4 separate regions of the Homo sapiens genome follow, and all the other regions are linked to region 1. The links are contacts of gene promoters, found by promoter capture Hi-C in blood cells and fetal thymus (Javierre and others, 2016). All regions are on one chromosome and are shown on one strand. Each heading gives the region's core, a stretch centred on a gene start or on the middle of the fragment in contact. The rest is flanking DNA. Distances are from core to core; before and after follow the strand shown.

Region 1 (5,349 bases), core at 1-2,500:
GGAGGTGCCTGCGCACCTGCTCTGGCCACAGCAGAGCATGGAGGTGCAGGCCTGGCGGAAGCGGGGGTCGAAAAAGGCATAGAGGAAGGGGTTGAGGCAGCTGTTGACGTAGCTGATGCAGGTGCAGTAGGGGAAGATGTTCATGAGGAAGAGGTCAAAGTCACAGGGCCAGTGCAGCAGGCTGCCCAGCATGTACAGCGTCTTCACCAGGTGGTAGGGCATCCAGCACAGGGCAAAGGTCACCACCAGCACCACGATGATGCTGAGCAGCCGGCGCCGCTTCCGCAGGCCCTCGATGCGTTCCTTGCGGAAGTGGCCAGCGATGGTTTGGGCGATGAAGAAGTAACAGGTCAGCATGATGGTGAAGGGCACCACAAAGCCCACGGTGGTGGACGAGACCCCAAGGCCCACCTCCCAGGCCCACTCTGAGCTCACAGTGGCCACCATGGAGTAGTCCATGTAGCACTGCACCTTAGTGGTGTTCTCCAAGTCCCCGGTGGTGCGTAACACCATGACAGGCATGGCCAGGAGGGCGGCCAGCACCCAAAGAACTGCCGTGGCCACGGCCCCGCTGACCCGCAGCCTCAGCCGAGCATTGGCCACTGGCCTCACGATGGCCAGGTAGCGGTCGAAGCTGAGGCCGGTGAGGCAGAAGACGCTGGCGTACATGTTGACGAAGATGAGGTAGCTGCTGAGCTTGCAGAAGAAGGTCCCAAAGGGCCAGTCATAGTCCCGGTACGTGTAGGTAGCCCACAGGGGCAGCGTCACCACGAAGGTCAGGTCAGCCACCGCCAGGCTAGCAATGAAGATATCAGCTGAGCGCCTCTTCTCCCGGCTGCTCCGAAACACGGTCCAGAGCACCAGACCGTTGCCCGTGGTGCCCAGGAGGAAGACCAACATGTAGATGGCAGGGATGAGGGCCCCCGAGGATTTCCAGTCTGTGTACTCACACTCAGACTGGTTGTCTGCCCCATAGTAGTTGTCAAAATCACCACCTTCCTCCATGCTGGGGAGTGGAGAGAAGACGGGCAGAGGGTCCCAGGGACACCAGCTCCGTGGCTCTGTCACCCACTCTGCAAGCAGCCTGAATTTCTGGCTTGAGCCTCAGAGAGTAAGAAGGGCTGAAGATGCCCAGAGTCCTTCCCAGCACTCAGGAGGAGCTGCCTCTGGGTTCTCCAGACCCTGGAGGAAGCCTGTCTCCTGCAGAATTTCCTCCACCCTCTCTTGCCTTACCCCCGTCTCAGTTAAGACACTTCCTTGCACCCTCCTGCGTCCCTGTCTCCTCCTTGACTCGTCACTCCCTCCTCCCACCTCCAGACCAGCCCCTCTCTTGTGAGTCAAAATCTTTAGTGACAGCCCACTTTTTTTTTCTTTTTGTCACTGAGCAAGTGGACCAAATTGACCCCTACTGTGCTGGGCTGAACATTATCTGTGGTTTTGCAAGTCGGCTTTCCTGGCCCCGCCTCTCCTTTCTGGCTGCCACCCACCTTCACCCCAGCCCCTATCCCTCCACTTTCCTCTGGCCACCACTTCCTGCCTGCCCTTTAGGGCACTCCCTCCTCAGTGCTCTCCGCCCTCCTGTTCTCACCCCCTTCCATCCAATCTAAATGGGACACATTATGCAGATTGCAATCCAGCTTGAGCTGGAGCCAGGGCTGGTAGGGAGCAAGGAGGGTGTAAGATTTCGCAGGATGGGCAGGGCATCTGGCAGGTCCTCCTGGCAGGCAGGTCTGGCCCCCTCGGCTCCCTTCCTGCACCCCCAGCCCCCACCCAGACCAGGTGTCACAGGAGGGTCTTCTCCCACTTTGCCTCTCGCTTCATCTTTCTCTACCCCTTGGCTTTGACCCTCCCTCTGAGAACTTTTGTGGTTTCTAGAGAAATACCCCTACACTAGTGTAGACTGCAGTTTGCAGTTTGCGGAAGGCACAGGATGCTTTAGAAGGTTGAGGGCAGTCACAGGATGGAAGAAACCCAGGACAAAATTATCTCTAAACAAGTCATTAAATCTGTAGGAAACAAAGGCCCAACAAGGTCAATGTTTTGCCCAAGGTAATAAAGTGAATTATGCTACAGTTGATTGTTTGCTTTTCTTCTTCTCCAAACACGAACATAATACAGTACCTGGCATGTCGTAGGTGAATGGCTGTTTTGTTTGTTTGTTTGTTTGTTGAGACAGAGTTTCACTCTTGTTGCCCAGGCTGGTCTAGGCTCACTGCAACTTCTGCCTCCTGGGTTCAAGCGATTCTCCCGCCTCAGCCTCCCTAGTAGCTGGGATTGCAGGCTAATTTTTTTGTATTTTTAGTAGAGATGGGGATTGACCAGGCTAGTCTCAAACTCCTGACCTCAGATGATCCACCCACCTCGGCCTCCCAAAGTGCTGAAATTACAGGCATGAGCCACCACGCCCAGCCAGGTGAATGGCTGTTGAGTGAGTAAGTGGATGGATGATGTAGGAGGTGAGTGAAAAGGGGAATCCATAGATGGAAGAACAAGTGTAAGAATTACTACGTGGTGAGAACATGGATACATTTCAGTTCTCAGGTTTTTACTATCCTCCATGGACCAAGAGGTTTCTGTAAGACCACAGGGGGTCAGGAAGTTGAGCTAGAGGAGGGGGGTCTCTAGAGAAAGACTCAGTCACTGGAGGATACTGTGGGGAAAGTTCCGTAGACGCTCACTTTGCCCCAGCTCATCACCTCTCCAGGACCTCTAGGAAGGAAGGAAGATGCACGACGTAAGATTTTTTTTAAAAAATACGCACCCTTTCCACAACCTTGAAGAGTTGGGGAAGCCACCTGACGTTGGGTAATAGTGAGATGGAACAAAAGCAGGAGCTGAGCCTTAGCCACTTCCAAGGCAAAAGACTTACAAAAGCTGGAATTGGCCAGGCAAGGTGGCTCATGCCTATAATCCCAGCACTTTGGGAGGCCAAGGCAGGAAGACTGCTTGAGCCCAGGAGTTCAAGACTAGCCTGAATAACACAGCCAAGACCCTGTCTCACGATATATATTTGTCTTAAGTTACTACAAAAGCTGGAATCCATTTTCTGGAGGGAGAGTGGATCAGAAAATCATATGCAGAGATCAAGGAACTCAAACTCAAATACCTGCAAAAAAAAAAAAAAAAAACAGGCCAAGAGTGTAGTTTGAGACAACAGAGAATGGTAAAGACTGTGGCAAACTGGAGGGTGCCCATTCCATCATAGGGAGGCCTCTTCAGCTCTAGTCTCTGGTTGCCACGCAGAAAGCTGGACCCCAGCATGACTGTGTCTTAGGATTTTTCCAAGATAATTTCAAATTATGGATTTTTGTAAGAAATTTTCATATTTGTAAATTTTGGAAATCAATTTTCATTTCAAAAAAAAGCACAGACCATGATAAGTAAAACATGTCTTTGGCCCCCGAGTTTGTGTTCTTTAAACAGGAGCTTGCCAAGAATAGAAGGCAGGAGAAGAACCAAGAGGATGGGGCAGGAGGAGGAAACAAAAAATGCAAAGATAGAAAAAGCCTTAGAGTGCAGTGGGGAGATACAGGAGAGAAGGCTGCAGAGAGAGATTAGAAAGATCCTGTGACCTTCACCTAAATGCAATGTGGAGTAATGAATATGTTGGTGTTTCTCATGAGGACTACATGTTGCCCACTTATTGTGTGCCAGGCAGTCTTCTAAACATTTTATACATTCTACATATATTTATTAGTATCTCTTTTAATCATCAAAATGACATTAGGAGGCAGGTGCTCTCATTAGCCTCAATTTACAGATGAGGAAACTGAGGCACACAGAGGTGAAGCAGTTTAGCCAAGATCACCCAGCAGTAATTGTCAGAGCCAGAATTTGAACCAAAGCTGTCTCGAGCCCATGGACTAAACCACTATGCTCCCAAAGAAAAACGCCCAATCCTTTTTAAACTGAGGGGTGTGTCATCTGTTAAGCATTAGAGAAATGTAGGGCGATGCCAGGATACCTGTAATTTACCTTAAAATAAGCTCTACCGGGTGAGATTTTAAATAGATTGACTATTTAGAGACACACCTCACATTGATTAGACAGGGTATAAGAATCCTGCCAGGCAATAATCTGTACACTTAGGGTTAGCACCATAGACTTGATCCAGAAACCACCCTCGCTCTAGCCATTGCCAAAGAGAATTCCTGGTTGCCTGGTGCCAGCTAGAAAGCTAACAGGACTCTGCCCCTGGAATCTTGGCATTCTGTACAGTGGGGGCTGGGACACCCAATAGGATCCAGAGCTGGGGCTCCATCCATCTCACAGTACACAGGGTAGGAATTGCTTGGGGCCTCTTGCTCCTGCATTTTTGGCTAATAGAAGTTCTGCGCAGATGGCAGAATGGTTTTCATTATATCCTGACATTCATTCATCATATCATGATTCATTCATCATATCCTGATATAATAGTTTCATTATATCCTGACATTATATCCTGGGTGGAAATAGCTAACCTTTGGCTACCTCAGACTTCTTCAGTGGTAAGCTATCTTTACCTATCAAAGGGGACCTTGGAGTTGTGCAGGGACCAGCTTGGCTCAGGTCAGGTCATAATAGATGGCCCTTTTACGAGTAAACATTACTGCTTGGGACATTCCAGGATAAAGACCAAGTTTGAGACGCCTAGTGATCCCAGTTCTCCCATGATTCTCCCAGAAAGATGCAGATGTCTGTGCCCTTTGCAGCTAGAAATACAGAGAGAAGGGAGCTAGCAAGCTTGAAGCGTCCCTGAAATCAGGTCCCTGTCTCCCTCCCCTCAGCTGTTCCCACTGGAATGCTGAGCCAGACAGGAGCCTGGAGACCCCTGTGGGAAAGGATATGGATCCATCGCTTTCATCTGCCGACCTCCAGGATGTCTGCCCTAGAGGGAGTAAAGAGCAGTTAATCTCACTAGAGTTACCAGACTCATTGAGAGGGGAGGGAATTGGGGGCCAGGGCTGGGAAGAGGCCACCGTTTGGGACCAGAGAGGGTAGAGTGCTGATAAGATCCGGCCTCCAACCAGGAGCCAGCTGTAGCCAGATGGCCTGAGTGCCCCCTGCAATGACAGCCTGAAGTGAGCAGAATTAGCCAGCTCACTCCTTATCCTGCCTGATCTGATCTGTCCCTGTTCCGCATTGCACCATTCCACACAGAAGAAAGACTGGAAAATAGGACCAGTAGCTGAAGATGAAACTTGTGTGTCCCGGGGCTCAGAAGTATATGGGTCCTGGGCCTCACAGACTAGACATATACAAGGCCTGGGACAGATATCTTCTTTTCATTTCTGCCCCCCACCCTACTTGGCACCTGGTAAAAGTCTGTTGAATTAAAGCAATAGAAACACACTCAGGAGAAGGGTGTAA
Region 2 (5,349 bases), core at 1,794-4,293, 420 kb before region 1:
ATTTCCCTTTTGGGTAATCATATCCCTGAATTCCTTCTACTTTTGTATATATTTGTCTCAGCATCACGGGATGAACAGCACCAAAACAAAGCTACCAGAATGGTGGGCACTCATCTTTTAGATACAGATATTACCTGGAGTAAGACTTCATTGGCATAACTGTTTTAGATGTTAACTTTAAGCAGGACTTTTAAGGAAGTATCTATACAAAATAATCAAGGTTCATAATAGTACTTCAAAGAAAATAAATATTGGTTTCTAATAATTATGTGATGAAAACAAGATTCACAATGTATGGTTTCATTTTAAGATGAAATGAACTATAATTAAGATTAATGCTTTCTTTTACAACTTCAAATGAATATTACTCATAAAATTAAAAGATCATACCTCCATAAATATTAAAGCCTATCATAGAATTGGTAGCAATTAATATTAGCTTTTTTCTTAGTCTCTCTATATAGTAAACAAACCAGTTATTTTCTCCCTATTGTGCAAAGCCAAATAGTCAATGTAATTTATTTCAGATTGAGCACTTTTTAGAAAATAACTCAAATATATTCAAAGTTAATACTTTGAAGAATCATAGGAATATAAAAGAAAAATGTTAAATTCTTGCACTTTTTACCATTAGAGAGTTCTAATACAATAAAAATTGCTTTCTTTTTAACCTGTAAGAGAATAATAATGTGCAGAAAAAGTTAAGATGTTTTTGTTATGCAGGCAATAGTTGTGCTTCAGACTGGAATCTTTTTGAATGTATGTCATTTTCCTTTTAAAGAGAAATGAGAAAGAAAAAAGAACACTGTGAAATGAATAAAACGTCCCAGTTGCTTTCAACTGATACATTTTTTATACAGGAACTTCTAAGCAATCACACTGTTGTCATTATAAAGTTTTTTTTGGGTGGTTGGATATTTTTCCTTCACTCGTCTTCATCCTCTAGTAGACCCAGTAAAGTTAACTACAGAGATCTCAGGGGAATGGTACTTATAAATAGAGAGGCATATATCTCCTCTGAAGGCAGTTGTGTCTCAGCAATTTTCTTCTCATGGCCAAATTAGCTAGTCTCCATCCATTGATAAGGATAATACATAATAAAAACAAAAAATGCGAAAAGAATTATTGAAATCTCATTTTTTTCTGCTACACAAAAATGGAGCTATAGCACTCAGTGTAAACCAAACAATCTGAAAATATTCTGTGCAATACCTGTATGTGGTCAGAGTCTCCTTTGGCCTCAATCCCCTCCTCCACTCCTCTTCTTCTTTCCGCTGTCACTTCCCTTTATTTCCATAAGCAAGTATTGGTGAAATAGATCATTCAAGCATGCTATAACTTCAATGGAAGTCCACTCTCTCATTTGTGTAACTCTTCGGAATCTACACATGCACATACACTTATACATGTTTCTATATGCAAAAAAGTTCTCAAAAAATACAACATAAATTCTGTTTGGAATGGATAGGAAGCTTATCTTGTTTACATTTCCTAGTGTACTATTTGAATTTTGTACCATGTACAATCATACTGTATTATAAAAACACACTTTAAAATATAAAAATACTTTAATGTAATAAGTTGTATGAAGTTTTTAATCAAATGAAAGGTATTTATATCAATGGATAGAAATCAGGATATAAAATAGCATGTACAGTATATCCATTCACAGAAAAGACTCACAACTTAGGACCAAAACTTCCATTTTATGAATGTCTTCTCCAAACTTGTAAATTCTCTTTACTGCCACCCTTTTGCAAAAACATAAGTAATAATACTATTCTCCAACCACTGACCAAGAAGAAACTCATTTCTTTAAGCCAAAATATGAATATTGATATTCCCAGCAGTTTATTTGAATCAGATTTGTATATTCTCCTGACCCACACACAGTCATTTAAAATGAAATGTGGTCACTTTCTCACTGGGCAGGGTCAGTGCATGATGCAACTGTTCCTCCCATTACTAGCAGAGAATAAGAAGGTTAAAATCAGCTCCTGACTAAATGACTGTCCCTAGATAAAGTATAGATGAAAACTATTTCCATTTGTTGCAATGATCAGTATAGCAAACTCTGTTTGTGCCTCTCTCTTATCATTTCAGTGCACTTCAGTTCCATCTTCAACTGCTAACACCAAAGGTTTTTGTGTGTGGATTTGTGTGTGTGTGTGAGGATTTATCTTTCCGCCGCTTTTCTACCTGCCTAACAAGCTGGAAGTGGCAGAAAATGAACACTTTCCAGGAGCAACTGTCAACCAAAGACTGGCTTATGTAAACATTTCTTGACTCAGGCTCTCTCAGGTGGGAATACTCTGATTCTTGTGTTTTATGCACTGGCACCCAGAGATCTCCAGCACTGGCAGTGCTCAGTTGACCACTGCAGTGATCTTCTCATTAACACTTTAAATAGTTCAATAAATAGCTGTATACTACATAGAATCCAAAAGGTAACCACTAGAAGAGATAAGAACTGATTACCATGTTTCTAAATTATCAAATGGAATATACACCTTTATACCATCACTCCCAAAATAAATATAGGAAACTCTTCCAGAGAGTATTAATTTCTTTCCATTCATTATCTCACTTCTAACTTCCCTGTCAATGTTTTAGTTGCTTCCCAAATAAACTATTATCAACCAATGCTTGCACTTGAATCTTTTCCTCAAGGTTTGTTTCCTGGAAAACTCAAACTAAGATGCCTCGTACCAGAGTGACCCTTAAGGTGCAGATTATTGGGATGTAATTCTGGAATCAAATTACTCACTGGAAAGATGGCAACAATACCCATTGCTGATGGAACAGAATGGTAATAACCATGGGCATGCCTTAGCATCTCAGTTACCAAGACTCACCTGCAGTGAATTGGGATAGGGTACAAGTGAGAGATGTATGTTGACTTATGCAACATGAGAAATATGGGGAGCAACAATAATTATTAAACTATGAAATTAATTTACATTAAATGTCTTTAATATGCTCAATGATGAAAACAGACTCAAATAGGACAATTTTCAACTCAGGCATGGTGTCAAAGTCAGAAAGGCAATGTTCAAAAAACATTCATCTTCAATTAGAGACCAGACTGCATGAAAACTCTACCCAGACTGCATGAGAACTCAATCAGATTTGTATATTACAGATGTTACACATCTTGTACCAGGTTGCAAGAAGTAATAATAAAAAAGCTAAATTCAAAGCCTCTTTAGAGCCACAGAACTCTGACAGGGGAAAAGCTGAACACTGAGAATTGGGATTAAGACATCGGTGTGTATGTGCTTGAGATTTTCCAGTACCCTTGAAACCTTGAACCTGCAGAAGTAGTCCTGTTCCCTTTGCCAGAAGGCAGCAGCCTTCCTTTGCTTAGAGAGAATAAAGAGGCCTCACATGAGTCAGAGCATTCACAAGAGAGTAATTTCTTTTCTCAGGATGTAGTCTTTCTTCCCCTCATGGCTCTTAGACTTAGCAACCAGGGTCAAGGCTTAGAATGATGAGGTGTGATGACTAAGGAGAATTGGCTCTACTTTAAGAGGAAAATGATTACCCACCAGGAGTTCAAAGAATTGGCTAAAATGTGCCACAAGAACAAGGAGAACATATAAAAGCATATATTAATATCTTGAGGGTAATTCTAGGACTGGGGAAATAAAAAGCTGAGTAGGGGAGAATTTTCTGACATAGGAGAACCTCAGTGACTCAGAAATTAGCTTGCAGGCAGGACACCAGAAGCTGATTCTAATGCACTGTTAGGATGGCTCTTTGAATTTTGGAAAAAATAACAGCATGCAGTAAAAGAGGTAGGGATGCCATTATTGCCATGCAGAGTGTTGAAGAAAAGGCCCAAATGCTCAAAGAGGTAGAGATGCTTAAAAAGGATTTATTACACAAGACCAAAGAAGCTACAGATGCATGTATACCTGAGAAGACCCAAAGGACACTTTTTCCACTAAAGCAATAAAGATAAGCACTAGAGAGCCACCAGCTTGGTGAAAAGCTCAGTCGTTTGAGATGCTGCTATGGATCTAGGCTTCCTGGAGTCACTGGAGATGATAGGATTCCAGAACACTTGAATTGGAAATTAATGCCACCACTAAAGACATAAAAAATGTAGCAGCAGTTGTCTCTTTTCCCTCTCTATTTAATTCATCAGCCTGGACCCTGAAGACCCATATGTTTTCTAGAGAATGAATATAGACTGCCTCGAGTTCAGCCAAGTAGTAGCCCCAATAGCAGTGTTATACTAAACACAGAATCATTTAAAAGGTCTCCAGTATATGATACAGTCAGTGATTTGGGGAATGAATTATTTTCTGTTGCGGTTAGAAAAGAGGATCAGAAATGACTTACATTCATGTGAGATGAACGATACTGTATTCACTTTCAATTATGTCTCAAGACTATGTTAGTTTTCCTGCCCAAGGAAATATAGAATGAAGATATTGTCCACCTAAGCATTTCTCAAAACATCATACTGATTTATTACATTGATAACATCATAATGACAGAGCAAGTTACACAAGTTGTTACTAGAATATTGGAGATCTTGGTAAAGCACATGTGCTACAGGGGGTATGAGATAAACCATATTAAGATTTGGGAATTTGGACACTTAGGGAAAGCTTTTGCAGGTTCAGTGCTTAGGGGAATACTAGAATAACTCCTTTGAAGTGAAGATCACAGAGGCAGTGTCTTGGTAGGACCCTGGGTTTTGGAAGCAACACATTCCATAGCTAAGAATATTGTTCCAGCCGCTATACCAAGTGACACAAAGGCTGCTAGTGTTAACTGGAATCTGCTGCAGGAAAGGGCTCTGCAGCAGATCCCAGTTGCAGTCCAAGCAGCCCTGCCACTTGAGCCACGTGATGTACAACAGATGTTATGATGTTGAAGGTTGCAGTAGTGGGAAAAGAAGCAGTGTGGAGCTTATTACAAGACTCAGTGGGAATCTGCCGTTTGACATTTGAATGCATTCTTAAGTAAATGTGTTTATATTATACATCATTCTAATGGACATGTCTCACTTTATGTTTTTTTTGCTAATGACTTATTACTTGCCATTTATTTTATATTTATTTTAGACTGTGGAAATGATGTTAGACAAAAAGCAAATTTGAATGATTATCTTATTCGAGTTCAAAATGGGTTGTAAAGCAGCAGAGACAACTCTCAACACCAGCAATGCATTTGGCCCAGGAACTGCTAACAGATGTACAGTGCAGCAGTGGTTCAAGAAGTTTTGCAAAGGAGACAAGAGCCTTGAAGATAAGGAGCATAATGGCCGGCAATCAGAAGTTGGCAATTACCAAATGAGAGCAATCATCAATGCTGATCTTACAACTACACAAGAAG
Region 3 (5,349 bases), core at 1,578-4,077, 390 kb before region 1:
CAAAAGCCAGATATCTGGCTTACTTAAAGCCTGACTTTCTCAATTGCCATTTGATCAAGTCCAGCTAGACCTAAGACAATTTAGATGAGTTGAAAAAAATATATAGACCTTTTACTGTATCACATTCCAGAGTGAACACAAAACTAACATGATGCATCAATACACAGGGCTGAACAACTGAAACGACTCATGAGACTCCACAGAGTACAGTCTTAATAAAGTAAAGGATACTCTAAAGTAGGTGGGGGGAAAGCACAGAAAACCTCAGAAAAGTCCAAGACCTTCAGACCCAGCTTCCAGGATCATTTCTCAATTGATTAGGATGCGATTTTAATCTGAATCATGAACTACTAAGATATATACAAGAAAACTTGAGCTCTGGAGAATCACAGTCTTGTCCAAGGAGTGGTCTTTCATATCTGTCTGGTCTCATAACCAAAACTGGGCTGCATGACAAAAGCGAACAGAAGAAACAAAGAGAACATAGTAGAAACTAGGTAAAAAACACCAATCTGGAATTTTTTGTTGTTTTTTTAATGAACAAAGCTAATAAACTACTACAGATCTCTCACTTGGCCTGTCTCAGGTCCTAGCACAGGAATATTTGTCACCAGTTAGTTGAGCTTATTCTGATTTGGCTAAGGTTCCAGCAGTGTCTCCAGGAATCTCTGGAAATAAGTCAGTCCTCCCTCCAGACAACAATGGCTCCAAGCATCCCTGGAAATAAACATAGGATTGCAGTAGACCAGCTAAGATTAATCTTGTATTTATGTATATAACAGCGCTTCCTCAAACCAGAAGAAGACAATTAAGAATTAAACAGTTAAAACAAAGACAGAAACAGTATATTTGGCTCCATTTCCACTCTTCATCCCTACCTTCCCCCGCATTCAAATATTTCCCTTTCAGCCTTTATCGGGACTCAGAATGTGTCTGAAATCTTCTTGAACTCCAGCTTCAATTGAGACTGATTCCTGCTCTTTCTCCTGGAGCCAGAGTTAGTTGTGAGAATCACCAATACCCAACTCATGGCTGACTACTCTTATGTCTGTTGCTGGAGTTAGTGAGTTCTCTCTCCAGCCTCAATAACTGTGCTGCTCCCAGGTGCAAACGGGATGTAACTGTTTCTGTCCCTGCTACAGATGAAACCTTTTGAGAGGTGACAGCATGCTGGCAGCCCTCACAGCCCTCACTCGCTCTCAGCGCCTCCTCAGCCTCGGTGTCTGCTCTGGCCATGCTCTAGGAGCCCTTCAGCCCGCCACTGCGCTGTGGGGGCCCCTCTCTGGGCTGGCCGAGGCCAGAGCCAGCTCCCTCTGCTTAAGGGGAGGTGTGGAGGGGGAGGTGTGGAGGGAGAGGCGCGGGCGGGAACCCAGGCTGCGTGCAGCAATCGTGGGCCAGCACGAGTTCTGGGTGGGCGTGGGCTTGGCGGCCCCGCACTTGGAGAAGCCAGCCATCTCCGCCAGCCCCCGGCAGTGAGGGGCTTAGCACCTGGGCCAGCAGCTGCGGAGGGTGCTCTGGGTCCCCCAGCAATGCCAGCCTGCCAGCACTGTGCTCCAATTCTTGCTGGGCCTCAGCTGCCTCCTTGCAGGGCAGGGCTCGGGACCTGCAGCCCGCCAGGCCAGAGCCTCCCCTGCAGTGGGCTCCTGCCGGGCCGAGCCTCCCCGATGAGCACCGCCCCCTGCTCTAAGGCACCCACTCCCATGACTGCCCAAGGGCTGACTAGTGCTGGCACATGGCGCTGGACTGGCAGGCAGCTCCACCTGCAGCCCCCTGTGGGATCCACTAGGTAAAGCCAGCTGGGCTCCTGAGTCTAGTGGGGACTTGGAGAACCTTTATGTAAGACTAGGGGATTGTGAATGCATCAATCAGCACTCTGTGTCTAGCTCAAGGTTTGTAAATGCACCAATCAATGTTCTGTGTCTGGCTAATCTAGTGGGGACTTGGAGAACCTTTATGTCTAGCTGAGGGATTGTAAATACACCAATCAGCACTCTGTGTGCAGCTCAAGATTTATAAACACACCAATCAGCACCCTGTGTCTAGCTCAAGGTTTGTAAATGCACCAATCAGTGCTCTGTGTCTAGCTAATCTAGTGGGGACTTGGAGAACTTTTGTGTCTAGCTCAGGGATTGTAAATGCACCAATCAGTGCCCTGCCAAAATGGACCAATCAGCTCTCTGTAAAATGGACCAATCAGCAGGATGTGGGTGGGGCCAGATAAGGGAGTAAAAGCAGGCTGCCAGAGCCAGCAGTGGCAACCCACTGCCGCTGGGTCCCCTTCCCCACTGTGGAAGATTTGTTCTTTTGCTCTTTGCAATAAATTTGCTGCTGCTCACTCTTAGGGTCCACGCCACCTTTATGAGCTGTAACACTCACCGGGAAGGTCTGCAGCTTCACTTGTGAAGCCAGCGAGACCACGAACCCACCAGGAGGGACGAACAACTCCCGAAACGCGCCTTTAAGAGCTGTAACACTCACCGCAAAGGTCTGCAGCTTCACTCCTGAAGCCAGTGAGACCACGAACCCACCAGAAGGAAGAAACTCTGGACACACCATCTTTAAGAACTGTAACACTCGCCGCAAGGGTCCGCAGCTTCATACTTGAAGTCAGTGAGACCAAGAACCCACCACTTCCAGACACACTTTTGATCTTTTGCAATGGTTAAGACTGGACACTCTGAGCCTCGCCTGCTCGTGTGGCATTGGCCTCATACCAAGCTTTGGAGCCTACTTGCATAAATTGCTTTCTACCCAGATTGCAGGATTTGCATGGTAAACTCTCCAGCAGTAGAAATGGAAAGGACTTTGAGTCAAGGGAGGAACACAGAGCAGGCAGCACAAAGACACACATATCCAGAGATATCTCGGGGATATTTTGCAAGCCTTCTCCTGAGGGCTGTTGATGGACTTGAATCCATTAAAATTGCTGCTTCTCTAAAAGCTTGACTCACTGTCCTAGAAACAATGTATATCAGGGTGGACTACAACTAGGATTTGGATGACAGTTTAACAATTCAGGTCCTGACTTGAAAAACCACTATAGCACTCCAGCACGTCTTTTTTCCCACCACAAAAACAATAATGCTTGGAAGTTCATAAGCAAGTAAGCTGAGTTTTTGATTCAGCAATATAGTCAGGACTCATTAAATAAGGGTGGGAATTATCCCTATGCCAAGGAGCCAAATGCTACTTGAATGTAAACATGACTTGGGAACACAGAAGGTGAATCTCATGTACAACAGGATGCAGAACTGAGAAGCAAACCTCAAGGAGGGCCTTGCAAGTGTTAATGAGTGAATGCCATCCCCACCACAGCCAGCCTGAGTGCATGTTGGAGACCGCATGCCCCAGGTTTCCTCCCACACAGCACAGAAAGGAATGGTCAGAGTTACGCAGTGATTTACATTCACCCTCTGATCGGGAAGCCCAGAAAACATGGACTAAATCCCAATACAGTGGAGTTAGAGATAAATATCTAGGGCTGCTTTCCTCTTTATTTCATTTCCTGCTCATAGCAAAGAATCTGGTCATGGAGAGGGAAGCCTAATTCTAACAAATCTACTCTTAAACAAAACTATTTCGCAGCCCAGGGTTTTTGCAGGGACGATAATGTTTTCAGCCAGACTCTGCCCAGCAATTCCAGAATCATCAGGGATAAGCTCGCAATTCAATAAAAGGCTACAGAAGCAAACTAGGCATGGATGTCACTCCACAAGAATACACAAAGATTGATCATGGCAAGAGTGTGATGAACAAAAACAGTCCTCATATCTAGATTTACAGCCTTCTCTTCTCAGCTCCCCAGTCCAGGCAAAACATTTAGCCGTGGTCAATTTAATGCTATGCCTCCTTTTTCTGTCTCCAAAAAAGAAAGGTCAGAAGTGGGATGAACAGACCCTTGCAAGAAAATCGGAGTGGAAAATAAACCGCCCTCTCCGGGGAGCTGAAACCAGAAAATGTATGACAACTGAGCAGCTCATCAGATGGAGGGGAGAAATACCAAAAGACAAGAGAGATCAGGGAAGGTATGGGCAGAAATGAGAAGAAAAATTTTTCTAAAGTAGAAAAGTGAGTGGCTCCTGTAAGTTGCGAGTGCTAGAAAATAACAGAGGACAGGTGGAAAATAGGCACTTTGAATTTGCACTTAATAGGCTTTTGGTAAATGTAAAAAACAGTTTCTTCCTTTGAAAATGTTTTTAAAAAGCAAGATATTCACCAAAGACATATGAATGCCCATTAACAGATCAAAATGTGTTGAAACAAAATTGTGATTAAAAAGGCATCGTATTGACTCTACCAAAATGGCGAGTGGCAGCAGGGGACACACAGAGATGCTGCTGTCCCTGCAGTTCTCAATCCCAGTCCCAAGAGGTTCATTACGCTAACGGAACTTCTGTGCTGCGTGACTGCATGGCTAATTTGCAGCCGCTATCCCTCCAGCTAAAAAATGTCTAGACAGGGAGGCTCCTGACACAAATAGAGACATTAATGATTAACATGAAATTCATCTTTACATCAGTAGCAGGATAATGGAAGTTTATAGGAATAAAAGGCCCGTTGTCATTTGGCAGTTTGTGAGGATGAGCACATCATATTTTAAGGTTTAGGGTCTTTAGACACATACTCCCTTAGTATACTAAGGACCTGGAGGCAATCTTGCCAGACTTCCTCTGCAGGCATCTTTAATTTTCTTGTATCATAAATTTTTATCTTACATTCTATACAAGGGGGAATCACTGAGCTGATGAGTGAGCCTAACCATTTGCCCGTAAGTATGAGGCTTTGTTGTTTTATATTCAGTGTGAATATGATAACTCACATAACCTCTCTTATGAACCTCTCTTTTTCTCTTTTTGGGTGGGGGGGGGTGATTTTTTAAATGGCCTTGAAAAGAAAGCCAACTTCTGGTATTGGAGATGGAAGCAAAGAATAATAAAGAGTAAAAGTAATCGTTCTCAGATTGAAAACAAAAGATTTGCTGTAATGTAAAAATGGAAAATCAAATTTAGTAAAAGCTTATATCTACAAGTTGAATAAATTCAAATGCTGCTTACACAGAAATAGGAGAAAAATTTAATAGAACTATTTCAGGAGCATTGCCAACGCTGAAAAAGCTACTTGTCAAGTGAGAGATACAACAGTAGTGAAATCTGAAAAGGTGATTTACTTTTCATGCCAGGATTAGCACAGGAAAACAAATGGTTCTTAGTAGAAATGTACTTCAGGACAAAGTCAGAAACTTGGCAATACACATTCTTAAATTACACATAGTAAAATGTTCTAGTGAGCTTGTCTAATCCAAGTTTACTATTGAGTAGAAGTTTACCACTGAGTTGGTAAGAGAATTTT
Region 4 (5,349 bases), core at 1,451-3,950, 370 kb before region 1:
ATTGAAAAGAGATATCTTTATGAAATATCCAAACAGAGGGGAAAGGACAGCAAATAAACATCCAATAAAACTAGTCATAGCTGAGTGACACTGTGCCAAATTAGAAAGAACATCAGCTAGAAAGCCAGATCCAAATATGTCAGATTCCCAAGTCACTTTCCAGCTCTGGAACTTTGAACGGGTCCCTGTCCATTCTCAATCTCATTTGCAAAATGAGGCTACAGGTCTGCTGTGAAGACAACTGGAGAAATTGCAATTAACATTTTAGAACATTATAGGTTATGCGGTAACAACAACAACTACAAGAATCAGCAGACCAACCACAGAGCTGAATGTGTTATTGAGCCTCAGTGTGCAGAGGCATGAAAGGGAGGTTTGTGACTTTATCTTGTCACCTGAAGGGTTCATTAGACCTTCAGAAGGCACCTTTTCCCTTCTGTGAGAATTTGTTTTGCAGGCTCTGCAATTATCATCAGATCATCATCATCAGATGATGCACAGGACATGAGATTGAAAACAGCACATCCAAAAAACAAAAAAAGTATGCACCTAGAATGAAATACCTAAGGACATTTCTAATTAGGGAGGGAGAGAGTAATCAGGGATGATGCTGAAAGGAGATGTCAGGCCTGGCATTGCTAAAATGAAAAGGAAGGGAAGCTAGGAGTTATTTTAACTGAAACTTGCACCCACCCACCCAGCCTCCTCCATCTCAGAGAATCGATGACAGAATAGAATTTGAACATCTCTGGGTTTTAGTTAGCCATTGACACATTGATTCCCTCTATAAGCAAGTATTGAGCACTAGTTAGTGGCAGGTTTAGGAAACTGAGAAATAAGGAATTCATGGTCTAGTTCAGGAAAGATACAAATGAGGTATGACAAGAGCTACAATCGCACCATACCCAGGTACGGTAAGAATACAAAGGAGTTCCAGCCCTACCAAGAGTGATCATTATAAGATAAAAGTGATATGGAAAACTGAGTTTTGAAAAATGACCAAGGGGTTTCCAAGAAGGCAAGGTGTGTGGGGTACTCCAAGCAAAAGGAGTTGCTTCCGTGTGACTCTACACATAGTCTAGCTCCTGGCAAGTTGTAGGAGCACAGAAAATGCAAGAGGGTGGCAGATGGCAAACCACAGGTGGGCAGAGACCACACACTCTCCCTTTCTTGTGTACCTCCCAATAATTCCTAGCAGGATATTTGGCACATTATGTGTTCTCAGGAGATCAGAGTTCTTAAACACCTTGTTATCTGTAGACCTAACCTTTATATCTAGTAGGGAGAATTCAGAAGTGTACTTTATCTATGGTCAACAGGAGGAGACTGATTGCCTGAAGATGATCTGGTAGCAGCCAGGCTCCTGGCCCCATTCTGAAGAACTTGACATAGCTGGAAAATCAGACATGGCTGGAAGAAACTTCAGATATATTGTTTCTTAACTTGGCATCTCAACAACTCTAAGAAAAAATCCATTTTTATTTAAATTGTAAAAATAATGTGTCTATTAAGATTACCACCCTTGTTATCAAGTTCTGACATGTAATTTTGATGCTCAATTTTTATGTTTGTTGTTTTGAATATCTTGACCCCAAATGAACATCCAAAGTGACCGCTTTTGACTTCTAATTCAGTATTTTTTGGGATTTCCAAGTCCTCCAGCTTGAGAACAACTTCATTGGATACAATGTCTCAATGAAAGATAAAGATATGGAGACCCAGAAAGGAGAAATAACTTTGTAGTGCATCCAGCTGCTCAGTAAGGTGACTAGAACCCAGGGTGTTTCAATGTTTGCCATATCCCAGTCCAGCCACCAACCCTCTGAAAAGGCAGTCAACAGTACTATCACTTCCAAGATCTCCAGATATAAATCCAAATTTCAAATTCAGCTCACAATTCACAGTGGTGCATTTGACCTTTATGGTAAAAGTTACAGTTTCTACTTTATCTTGGACAATATCCATGCCCCACCTCTCTGAGAAGCAGACAGAATAGGTCAGGATAAATTAACTCCTATTTAGGGAAATAAGAATAGCTTTTTTGTAAAACCAAGTTCTCTCATTGTATAGAATTTGTGACTTCACACATACTTTACTTACATTATGAAGAGATGATACCATGAAATTTCTGATTGTGAAGAAAACATTGCTTTATTGTTAATTTAAGAAAGGTAGCCACTGCTTTTCTGTTAGGAAATTTTGAAAGCAGAGCAAGCCATCAATTTTTGACGTCTTTTACATATATTTGGTAACAAGTAGTCACTGAATAAATGACAAATTGATGTTACCTAAATACTCAATGCAATAAATAGCTTAGAACTGGGAGATGAGTGAGCCACAGGGTATGGGGATTTGTGGAACTCTAAGAACATGGCTATTCAGCAGAATCACCTGGGGAACACTTTGAAAAATGCAGACTCTGGAACCCAACCCCAGACTAACTGAATCAGAATTTCCACAGGCTGGTATCCAGAACCTGACATTTATACAAGCTTTTCAAGTAACTTTGATGATTATCTAATCCACCCAAATGAACTCCTGCCATATTTTTCAGAGCAAAAGTTTCTAAGTCAAAATGATGAAATCAACAATCAGTCAATTATAATCCTACATGAAATATAAAATCTTCCAAGATCAAAATAATTCAGAACAGCTGCCACTTTTTTTTCATTTAACTGTTTCCTCCACTTGAGACCCTATTTACTTATTCATTGAACAAATAATTATAAAATGCCTACAGTACTACAGCTGGGGATATAATTGTGAATATAATATATACGGCCATTTTATCAGGGAACCTATATACCTCAGTCACTGGAGTACTATGAGAGTTCTATCCAGGAAGTTTTTCTGAATTTATAAACTTGACTTCTTTTTCCTGGCATCTCACTTTTCACACTTGCTGCAGACAAGCTTCTTGGCTTCCTGGTCTAAGTGGTGGAAAGTAACCACTGCCAACAGCTCTCAGATTCACATCTCCTCCCTTCATGATGATAACTACTTCCAAAAGAAATTCACTGGCTTGACATGGGTTGAGTAGGTCTCCTGGGGCAGCCCGTGGCCTGGAGGAAAGAGTTCCATTATAAGAACATGATGCTCCAATGGAACCATGTCCTTAGAAAGAGGTTAGGGCAATTCCATTGGAAAGAGATGAATAGACAATTTGATACATTCCAACTGCACTTCTCTGAGGACTACCCGTGCACCTCACAGCATGAATCCTATGCCATTCATTTGGGCTGCTCAGAGTTTTCTTCTTGTCTGAATTTTGGCTCTGTTCAGGTAATTGAGTTATTTTTTCATTCTTTCATTATTCATTCATAAAACATTTATTAGACATTGACCTGGTCCACATCTTCGGGATAAGAAAAAGAAAAAAAGAAGCACCATGTTGTTTCTCTTGGAGCTCACAGATTACTGAAGGAGGCAAATGTATAGACACGTAATGATTATTTACTGTGACAGAGACATGCACTAAGTACTAAGGAAACCCAGGGGAAATTTAATGAATTTCACAGATTTCCCTAAATGAGTCTTAATGAATACAAGGGAGTTTTCTAGATTGGCTAGAGTGAGGGGGCTCCCAAAGTATGTTATGATAACGAAGTTAAGGAATGTGTAGCAGAAGGAAGTTTCATGGCTGAGAGGTGAAGTAGTGACTATAAATGGAATAATACAAAAAAAAGTCTTCCCAGCCATATCATTGGCAAGCTGTGCAAACTTGGGCAAGTTACTAAAACTTTCTATATTTACCTCATAAAATTGTGGTGAGAATTAACTTTCTAGTGGAGGTGAAGTTAATTTTTAAAGTAGTGCTGGAATGTCTTGAATTCTTAATAAATTTTTAGGTATTAATGTTTTATTATTATATTTAATAATGTTTTATTATTGTTATCATGATCATTATCATCATTATTTCAAACAAATATGTGACTCCAAGATATGCTTCTAAAATTTTTACTTGTGAGAGGAGAGTTTATTTTGTTTATCATCATATCACGGAGATTGTGATTTGGACTTGGCCCAGGGTACAAAGTAGTGTAATAGGAAAATAAATCTTGGGACCCCAAAATCACTAAGCCAGAGGGAAAAGTCAAGCTGGAAACTGCATAGGGCAAACTTCCCTCCCATATTATTCCTAAATAACATAGCTACAAAGATAAGAAGCTACATTCATTTCTCACAATTTTCCCAGAAGGAAATTTCTTGTGGACAAAGAACAGACAGAACTCAAAGTCATCCCTCTGAGCTCACCTGAGACAAATATAGATCTGATTGCTTCCTCTGCCCTACTGTTTATGTAAAAATGCAGATTCACTGATCCAGACTAAATTGTGTATTCAGAAGAGGGCTGATCAAGGACTCCAAAGAATGCAACCTTTTATCTCTTATCTACTTCTAATGTGGAAGCCCCCACTTCGAGTTGTCCCACCTTACCAGACCAAACCAATGTATATCTTACACATATTGATTCATGTCTCATGTCTCCCTAAAATGCATAAAAGCAAGCTGTACCCTGACCACCTTGGGCACATGACCTCAGGACCTCCTGAGGATGTCACAGGTGCATCCCTAACTTTGGAAAAATATACTTGCTAAATTGACTGAGACCTGTCTCAGATATTTGGGTCTCACATTTTGGTAACCATGAAGGGATTCTGAGTGCAGATACCCCTGACCTTTGGTAAATTTCCTGTTAGTGCTTGGTACCAACTTGAGCTATCTTTGTGGCTCAAACTGTAACCACCCAATGGATTCACGCTGCCCACTCCCTAGACAGAGCTGATTTATCAAGACAGGGGAGTTGTAATAGAAAGAGTCATTCACGCAGATCAGAGTTTTATTGTTACTCAAATCAGTCTCCCTGAGCATTTTGGGATCAGAGTTTGTAAGCACAACTTGGTGGATGGGGGAAAGCCAGTGAGCCAGGAGTGCTGATTGGTTAGGTAGGAGATGAATCATAGGGAATTGAAGCTGTCCCCTTGCACTGAGTCAGTTCCTGGGTGGGGACCACAAGATCAGATGAGCTACTTAATCAATCTGGGTGACACCAGCTGATCCATCAAGTGCAGTGCCCAAGACGATGGGAAGCCACCTCTTACATCAGCATGACCTAGATGTGAGACATGGAGTCAAAGGAGACCATTTGGAGCTTTAAGATTTGACTGCCATGCTGGATTTCAGACTTGCATGGGGCCTGTAACACCTTTGTTTTGGCCAATTTCTCCCCGTTGGAACAGCTGTATTTGCCCAATACCTGTACCCCATTGTATCTAGGAAGTAACTAGCTTACTTTTGAGTTTACAGTCTTATAGGCAGAAGGGACTTGCCTTGTCTCAGATGAGATTT

Evidence for each region. Contacts are between HindIII fragments. The CHiCAGO score rates a contact against its expected background, and 5 or more counts as called.
Region 2: a contact is called between a fragment that was not itself captured here and the fragment with the promoter of APLNR in region 1, in 1 of 17 cell types (M1 macrophages). The highest score is 5.0, in M1 macrophages.
Region 3: a fragment that was not itself captured here is called in contact with the fragment with the promoter of APLNR in region 1 in 10 of 17 cell types (M0 macrophages, megakaryocytes, M1 macrophages and 7 more); the score reaches 13.2 in M0 macrophages.
Region 4: a fragment that was not itself captured here is called in contact with the fragment with the promoter of APLNR in region 1 in 4 of 17 cell types (M1 macrophages, endothelial precursors, M0 macrophages and 1 more); the score reaches 6.3 in M1 macrophages.

What each region holds. Positions count from the first base shown.
Region 1 is chr11:57,236,000-57,241,348 of GRCh38, forward strand. It overlaps APLNR (apelin receptor), which reads right to left and starts at 1,251. Exons shown (of 1, transcript NM_005161.6): 1 at 1-1,251. The coding sequence starts at 1,005. RefSeq lists enhancers at 893-1,525, 4,567-5,333. The HindIII fragment of the contact is 5,179 bases long and covers 1-4,720 here.
Region 2 is chr11:56,812,005-56,817,353 of GRCh38, forward strand. No RefSeq gene overlaps it. Among named protein-coding and RNA genes, the nearest start is that of LINC02735, 34 kb to the right of the region's middle. The HindIII fragment of the contact is 3,147 bases long and covers 1,471-4,617 here.
Region 3 is chr11:56,843,848-56,849,196 of GRCh38, forward strand. It overlaps LINC02735 (long intergenic non-protein coding RNA 2735), which reads left to right and starts at 4,631. Exons shown (of 3, transcript NR_110137.1): 1 at 4,631-4,768. The HindIII fragment of the contact is 223 bases long and covers 2,717-2,939 here.
Region 4 is chr11:56,860,863-56,866,211 of GRCh38, forward strand. All of the region lies in intron 1 of LINC02735 (long intergenic non-protein coding RNA 2735), which reads left to right. Among named protein-coding and RNA genes, the nearest start is that of LINC02735, 15 kb to the left of the region's middle. The HindIII fragment of the contact is 421 bases long and covers 2,491-2,911 here.